Linked DNA regions of Homo sapiens: region 1 is linked to region 2. Evidence: promoter capture Hi-C in 16 types of primary human blood cells and fetal thymus (Javierre and others, 2016). All regions are on one chromosome and are shown on one strand. Each heading gives the region's core, a stretch centred on a gene start or on the middle of the fragment in contact. The rest is flanking DNA. Distances are from core to core; before and after follow the strand shown. Region 1 holds the start of LCP2 (lymphocyte cytosolic protein 2). Region 2 holds the start of DUSP1 (dual specificity phosphatase 1).

The links. The method cuts DNA at HindIII sites, captures the fragments that hold promoters and counts their contacts. A CHiCAGO score of 5 or more calls a contact.
Region 1: the fragment with the promoter of LCP2 here is called in contact with the fragment with the promoter of DUSP1 in region 2 in 2 of 17 cell types (activated CD4 T cells and non-activated CD4 T cells); the score reaches 7.8 in activated CD4 T cells.

Annotation. Positions count from the first base shown.
Region 1 is chr5:170,295,886-170,299,545 of GRCh38, forward strand. It overlaps LCP2 (lymphocyte cytosolic protein 2), which reads right to left and starts at 1,892. Exons shown (of 21, transcript NM_005565.5): 1 at 1,649-1,892. The coding sequence starts at 1,726. RefSeq lists an enhancer at 995-1,074. The HindIII fragment of the contact is 7,744 bases long and covers 721-3,660 here.
Region 2 is chr5:172,768,907-172,772,444 of GRCh38, forward strand. It overlaps DUSP1 (dual specificity phosphatase 1), which reads right to left and starts at 2,289. Exons shown (of 4, transcript NM_004417.4): 1 at 1,680-2,289; 2 at 1,255-1,400; 3 at 669-888; 4 at 1-226. The coding sequence starts at 2,046. It overlaps LOC105377730 (a long non-coding RNA gene), which reads left to right and starts at 3,305. Exons shown (of 3, transcript NR_188285.1): 1 at 3,305-3,538. RefSeq lists silencers at 1,637-1,746, 2,287-2,736 and enhancers at 1,776-2,537, 1,847-2,116, 2,538-3,299, 2,764-3,538, 3,300-3,538 and 1 more. The HindIII fragment of the contact is 7,766 bases long and covers 919-3,538 here.

The sequences.
Region 1 (3,660 bases), core at 642-3,141, 2.5 Mb before region 2:
GAAGAAAACTCTCCCTTCCCCCAGCTCAGGCAGTGAGGTCTTCCTGTACCATCCCTGACCCGTGGTCCATCTCCCTGTACTGATGGGAGTTTTAGGGATCAATTCTCTGTTGCTCAATTGGATTGTATAATTCTCCTGGTCACACCTGAATGTTAGGCCTATCTGTGCCTCTCAGCCCGTCCCAAGTCTTTCTCTTCATAATTCTCAATTCCTTTCTTTTTCCCTTATCAAGGTAACATGCCACTTTATTCCCTCTTGGCAAATTTTACCTTGTTGCCCTATCTTATTTGGTCTATATTTGAGCAAGATATTTAGAAACATCCTTCAAAAAACCAGTTGCGCAACAATATTTGCTGAAATCTAAGTTTATTATGACCTTGCAGAAGGAAAATAACAGAAATGAAAGCACAAAATATGGCAAAAAACAGGATCTGTGAACTGTACCCCTACCATACCACACCTAGTTCAACATGTTCTCATTTTCTTCTTCAGGTTGGGGGAGAACAGCTGTGACTATAAATGCCTCGGAAATGCATAGACCCCAGGTTTGGCTATACGTCCTAGGGAACCTCGTCTACCCTCTTGAATCTCAATTTCCCCAGGAAAAACACGAAGCTGAATTAGATGACTTCTACCATCTTAGCTTTACAATCTCATCTTTATGACAGTCTGGAATATCAACAGAATCCGATGCCAGCCTGCAGGGATGAGGGTGTTAGAAGCTTAACCGTCTCGCACAAGTCATCTTACCACATGGTCAGGGTAGAGGGACTATAACTAAGTCATGTGGCTTGAGATCTGCCCAAGCAGATGCGTTGTCCCCTTCTGCCAATGACCAAGCACAGGGATCCTTCAACCTTTCCTCTAAGTCCAGAAGATAAGACAGCAACGCTCTGGTCCCAGCACCGCCACAAGCCTCTTTTCCTCTAGGGGCCTCAGTTTTCATAGCTATAAATTGGGGCTCACATCAGTTTTCTGTCCTGCTTCACAAGACTCTCATAAGGCTCCAAGGAGACTGCCCCAGGCGGGAGCTTGAGGACCCCCCTTAGGGTCGTGAGCAGTGAAAGCCCAAATGCTGTGTCTGGCACTGCTCATCATAGTCCTCTATCCAGCCCTCCCACCCTGCCTATTCTTTCTCCTGCCTCCAGGACACCACGTCTCCCCTTTCTAGTAAGTAGCGTTGATCTCATTAGCAGTTACAACAGTTCTCTGCATCTCAGAGCATGGACTTTAAAACCAGATAGGTGTGGCTTGAGTCTTGCCTCTATCACATGTAGTCCCTAGGGCTTCGGACCATTTCACTTCCCTGAGCTGATTTTGCAGCTGAGTCAAGGGGATAACAATGCTGACCTCACAACATAGTAGGGAGCGCTAAATGGGACAGTGCCTGTGAGACACCGAATTCAAACCCTAGCACATAATAGGCACATACTCATTTGAGGGCTTCTGCTCCCATCCTTCTCTCCGGAACTCATGGTCAGGAAAACTCAGCGGTCTATATGGCGCTCACTCAACCAGTAAAGTTGCCATAGGGTTCCATTGCTATCTTATACACCTCCCACATTCTGCCCCAATTCCATCGTCAAGCCTCAGCTCAGCCCACCAAGGGCACTAGCATCATGACCATTCACACAAGAGCAAGGCTTACCTTCTTGAAATAGTCAGCAAGGCTGTCGGGGTCCCAGCCCAGGACCTCTGAGCGAAAGGGCACATTCCTCAGTGCCATGGCTGCTCTCCCGGGAAGAAGCTCACAAGCTGAGCATGGGCGCTTCACCCATGGGCAGAGAAGCTCAAATCCAGAGCTCGGAGGCGTTCTTGGCTCTTCCAACTCCCAGCTACCCTGTGGAACACCCCTGTTGGAGCCGATGTCTTTTCTGGCGTAGCCAGATCCCAGAAAGCAACGGCTTCCTCTGCGAACAAATATGGTCTCTTCTCAGAAAACGACTCAGCTAGTTTCCTTTACCACTTCCTCTGCTGGGCTCTAAATAAGTAAACAAGGAAGCCCAGCTCTGGAGGCTTGAGATGCAGAGAGAGCCACAGGGTTGGTAATTCCCCACTGGCTCCAGTCACCCCAACCCAGTAGGAGAGGCAATGAAGGGGTCTTAAACTCCAATGTGAGTCTGAGTAATTTTCCTTTAAACTCTGGGCACCCATATGTCTACACTGCATTCTTGCTCAGCTGGGGCTTTGCAGACCAAAATCTATCCTGACGGTTGACCTGAAATACAGACAATTTCCCACATCAGTGAACTGCTGGAGCATGTTTTTTTAATGCTTTCCAACCACTTTCCCCTCCCACCATCAAAGACTGGGATTCTTTCAGCTGCCTCTTTACAGTTGTCATGAGAGGGTCCTCAAGGAGTGAGTGAGTCAGGCACCCAGGGCTGAACAAGGTGCTACACTGTGCAGACAGGGCTCAGTTTCTGATATGACTATTTCTGTGCTATGCAACCTTAGGCAAGGAGTTAAAAGCTGGGAATCTCAGTTTCCAAATCTGTATAATAGGAAAACAGTGATTCTTCATATGCACATAAAACTTAGATGCATTCAACTAGACAAACCTAAAAAGAAAAATTAAAAAGAAAAAAAACTTAACAATTGCTATTGGTAGTGTCATATATTCCATTCACTATTGTTTCCACAATATATTTTATTCACTATTGATTCTGCCATATATTCTAGCCAAAGAGCACATTCCCTGGAGATAGGAGGTGAGAATTTGCTGTTTTCTTAGTTTCAGACATTGTTCATTTCTCATAACTGAACAACTTATTGGCAGAGGGTGAGTCCAGTGTATAAAAGCAACTATATTTGTGCAATAAGGCAACCTCTAAACACAAGTTACTACTTCATCTAATGCCACACACACACACACACACACACACACACACACACGAGTCATCTGTTCCAAGGCTGTTGCCTTTACTAAGTGATGCTATGTTGGTCCTTGAGGTGGTGCCTTCCTGAGGGTTTTCAAGCATAGCTTTGGCCATGCACAGTTTTCTTCTTATACACACTCTGAGGAGCCCCGCCGTCACGGTAATGCACCTGCCTCACAAGCTGGTGGGCAGCTTAAATGAAATACACATTTTGCTCCAGGCCCAGCACTAGCTCATCAATGTGAGCTGGTGTTAGCCTCACCTTAGAAGGTGCTGAGGGCATCAGTGAAGGTAGCCCAGGCCATTTGCTCCTTGCAGGGCCTCACACCTAAGAACTCTTTTCTTTTCTCTCTTTCTTTCTTTCTTTCTTTTTTTTTTTTTTTTTTTATTGAGACGGAGTTTCGCTCTTGTTGCCCGGGCTGGAGTGCAATGGTGCCATCTCGGCTCACTGCAACCTCCGCTGCCTCCCAGGTTCAAGCGATTCTCTTTCCTCAGCCTCCCGAGTAGCTGGGATTACAGGCATGCACCACCACGCCCAGCTAATTTTGTATTTTTAGTAAAGACGGGGTTTATCCCTGTTGGCCAGGCTGGCCTGGAACTCCCAACCTCAGGTGATCTGCCCGCCTAGGCCTTCCAAAGTGTTGGGATTACAGGCGTGAGCCATTGTGCCTGGGCCGCACCTAAGAGCTCTTTGTAGCTGATCATTCTGTATAAAGCACAGCTCTGCTGTACAAAAGCTCCATCACGGGTGAGAGGTCACCTGGTCTTTCAAATCACTAGC
Region 2 (3,538 bases), core at 1,039-3,538:
TCTGCCGAACAGTGCGGAGCCAGCACCTGGGACTCAAACTGCAGCAGCTGGCCCATGAAGCTGAAGTTGGGAGAGATGATGCTTCGCCTCTGCTTCACAAACTCAAAGGCCTCGTCCAGCTTGACTCGATTAGTCCTCATAAGGTAAGCAAGGCAGATGGTGGCTGACCGGGAAATGCCTGCCTGGCAGTGGACAAACACCCTTCCTCCAGCATTCTTGATGGAGTCTGGAAAACCAAAGGAGCGGCTGGTTACTTGAGAGTTCAGGAGAACCACCCCAAGCCCAGGTACAGTGTATCTGAGAAAGGTCATGTGTGTCTTGTCTAGAAATGGTCAACATCACCACATGCCATCACATGGATACTGTTCATGGAGGCAACGTGGGCACTGTGCAAAGGATGGCACAGGATTTAAACTCAGACTGGGGATTTCCACTTAGCAGATAGATCTCAGACCAGTCAATTCAACTTTGTGAGCCCCACTTTGCAAATCTGTAAAGTGGGACATCGAATCAAATTCATATTTTACAGGAATGTTGCCCACACCAGACTGATACTGAATGTGTGGAAGAAGGCTCAGAAAACTTCAAGCTCTTGCCACAGAGGTTGGGCTTAGTGGCTAAAATGAGAAGAGAAAGGCAGAAAAGCCCCAGGCATCCATTCCATTTACCTATGAAGTCAATGGCCTCGTTGAACCAGGAGCTGATGTCTGCCTTGTGGTTGTCCTCCACAGGGATGCTCTTGTACTGGTAGTGACCCTCAAAATGGTTGGGACAATTGGCTGAGACGTTGATCAAGGCAGTGATGCCCAAGGCATCCAGCATGTCCTTGCGGGAAGCGTGATACGCACTGCCCAGGTACAGAAAGGGCAGGATTTCCACCGGGCCACCCTGAAATCCAGAAATATCCAACATTCATCAAGCTTGCTCAAAGCCAAGGCCAGTGCCCATACCCACAAAAACTTTCTGCTGGAAAAGTCAATTTCAGATACCGAGTGAACTCAGTTCTGTTGCTGGAGGATAAATAAATAGGGAACTAAGCCCATTTGCCTGGGCAGGACCAGCAAGTTCATTTCCGTAGAGCCTACAATTGGAGACTCGGCTCCGTCAGACCACTTAACTGTGGAATAAATCATATCCCTGTGTCCCCTCCGTTATAAATAATGCTGCAGGTCACTTTCTATATTCTCCCTGGCACTACTCTTCCATGCCTTTGCCAGTTCTTACTTCTTCCCTGTGGCAGGGACACCTACTAACCTGATCGTAGAGTGGGGTACTGCAGGAACTGCACCCAGATTCCGCGCTGTCAGGGACGCTAGTACTCAGGGGAAGGCTGAGCCCCATGGGGGTCGACTGTTTGCTGCACAGCTCCGGGCAGGAAGCCGAAAACGCTTCGTATCCTCCTGGGAATACAAAGACATTTTTTTTCCCCATTAGTGACACCGGGACACGGCACCTTCATACAACTCCCCCACCCACCAAGGGCTGGAAGTTTACATCGGAAAGGCCCAGGCAAGTCTTTGTTTCCAGAGCCAAACAAAGCCAATGACAAGTTCCAGAGATAAATGTACTCCAGCGCCCACGCGCTGCAGGTGGGGCGATCCCCCGGGAGCCGAGAGCCAGGGGTACCGGGCAAAACCTCAGGGGTGTGCGGCCCGCCCCGAGCTTCCCCGAGGGCGTACCTTTGAGGAAGAAGACTTGCGCGGCGCGCGCCTCGCGGCAGAGCGCGCCGGCCGCCAGGGCCAGGGTGCCGTCGCGCTTGGCGCCGTCCAGGGCGGCGCTGCGCTCGTCCAGCAACACCACGGCGTGGTAGGCGCCGGCCAGCAGGCGGCCGCGGAGCTCGGCGTTGGGCACGATGTGCTCCAGGCCCATGGCGCCCTTGGCCCGGCGCCGCACGATGGTGCTGAAGCGCACGTTGACAGAGCCGGCGATGTGGCCGGCGTTGAAAGCGAAGAAGGAGCGGCAGTCCAGCAGCAGGCATTGCGCCGCTCGCTCCCCCAGCAGCGCCCGCAGGCCTCCAGCGTCCAGGGTGCCCACTTCCATGACCATGGCCGGCCTCAGCGCCCCCAGCGTGATCGGCCCTGCGGTGCTCTTTGTCTGTTCTCGGGGCCAAGGGCAGGGCGGCGCTTTTCGAGGAAAAGCTAGACCCCCGGGTCTCTCTGCGCCGAACCAAAAGCCGCTTTTGGACTGAGAGAGGAGCGTCACGCGGGGCTCCGGGCTCCTCGGCTTCTTCGCGGTTCCCCCGACTGCCCCTCCGACCCGCGTCGCACACACAGCCCAAATGTCCTTCGCAGCGAGCCTGGCCCGGGGAGCGCGTTTATATGCGGCCTCTGGGGGACGGGGCGGGCCAGACCCGCGCGCAGGGGGAGGGGGGGTGTTTGTTTGAATGGTGATCACGTGACGGGGCGGTGACGTCACCCGCCCTGCCAGGCCAGGCGCCGCCGAGCCAGAGGGGGAGACGTCATCAGCCTCGGAGCTGGGTCCGCTCGCCGCGCGCTGGCTCGCGGCCCGGCCCCCGCCCTGCTGTCCGGCCTGCTCTTGGCGCGTCCCCAGGGACCGGACCCGCGCCGCGCTCCAGGCCCAGCGGGGAGGAGGAGGGCTCGCTGCCAGCTGAGGCTGACCTCCGGGATGCGAGCGGCCGGGAGAACGGGCGACGTGCCACCTGCCTTGGCCTCGCCGCTCCTCCCTCTCTCCCTCCCCGAGTCCCCTTCCCCGTGCCCCTCGGCCGCCGACCTGAACCGAAAGGGGCTTCCTGTGCTTTTGCATACTCTTGTGCCCCTTTTCCTCATTTCCTCATCACTAACAGGCGGGGAAACTGAGGTTCCCCAGGCGAAGCGACTGACTTGCCCAGAACCACACTACTGGGGTGGGGGCAGCAAATAGGCGCCTAAGATGAAGTTTAGAGAAAAATGAACAACTCTGCCGATAGAAAAGTCGTCCCTACCAAGACCGACTCGAGCGAGTTGGGGCGGAGAGGTTCAGGGCAATGCTTTCCTGTTTCCCAGACTTTTCTTTAAGGTGGCTTTAAAATATCTACATTTGCCATGAAAGTGTGAGCAAGCAAACTCCCACCGGGAAATAATGCTATTCCTAGTCTTGTGGCCCCCGGAAGACTTGGAGCCAAGGGAGGCAGGTCAGGGGGCTGAAATCCCGGTGAGGGGTCGCAAGGCCCCGCAGTGGATTCCAGGGTTTGGCGTTTGGAGGGGTGAGGGGCGACCCGCAGCGCGACTCGACGGCGCCCCCCAGGGGCCGCCCGACACGTTTCTGTCACCTTGGCTCCAGACTGAGCTTCTCCATCCCTTTCTTTATTATACAAATAGGCAGTATACACAGTGAGCGCCCACTAAGCGCTGGGCTGGGGGCCTCCAACCCGGAACAGAAGCCGGCCACAACCCTCGCTCCCTGTCGTCGCGGCCGTTATAGGCCGAAAGCAAAATCCAATCCCGGGCCATTGTGGGCGGATTGCCAGGACCTGGATCGCAACACTTGGGAAGACCCCCGCCCCGCCCAGCGATCTCCGTGCCCTGAGTCCCAGTGACGG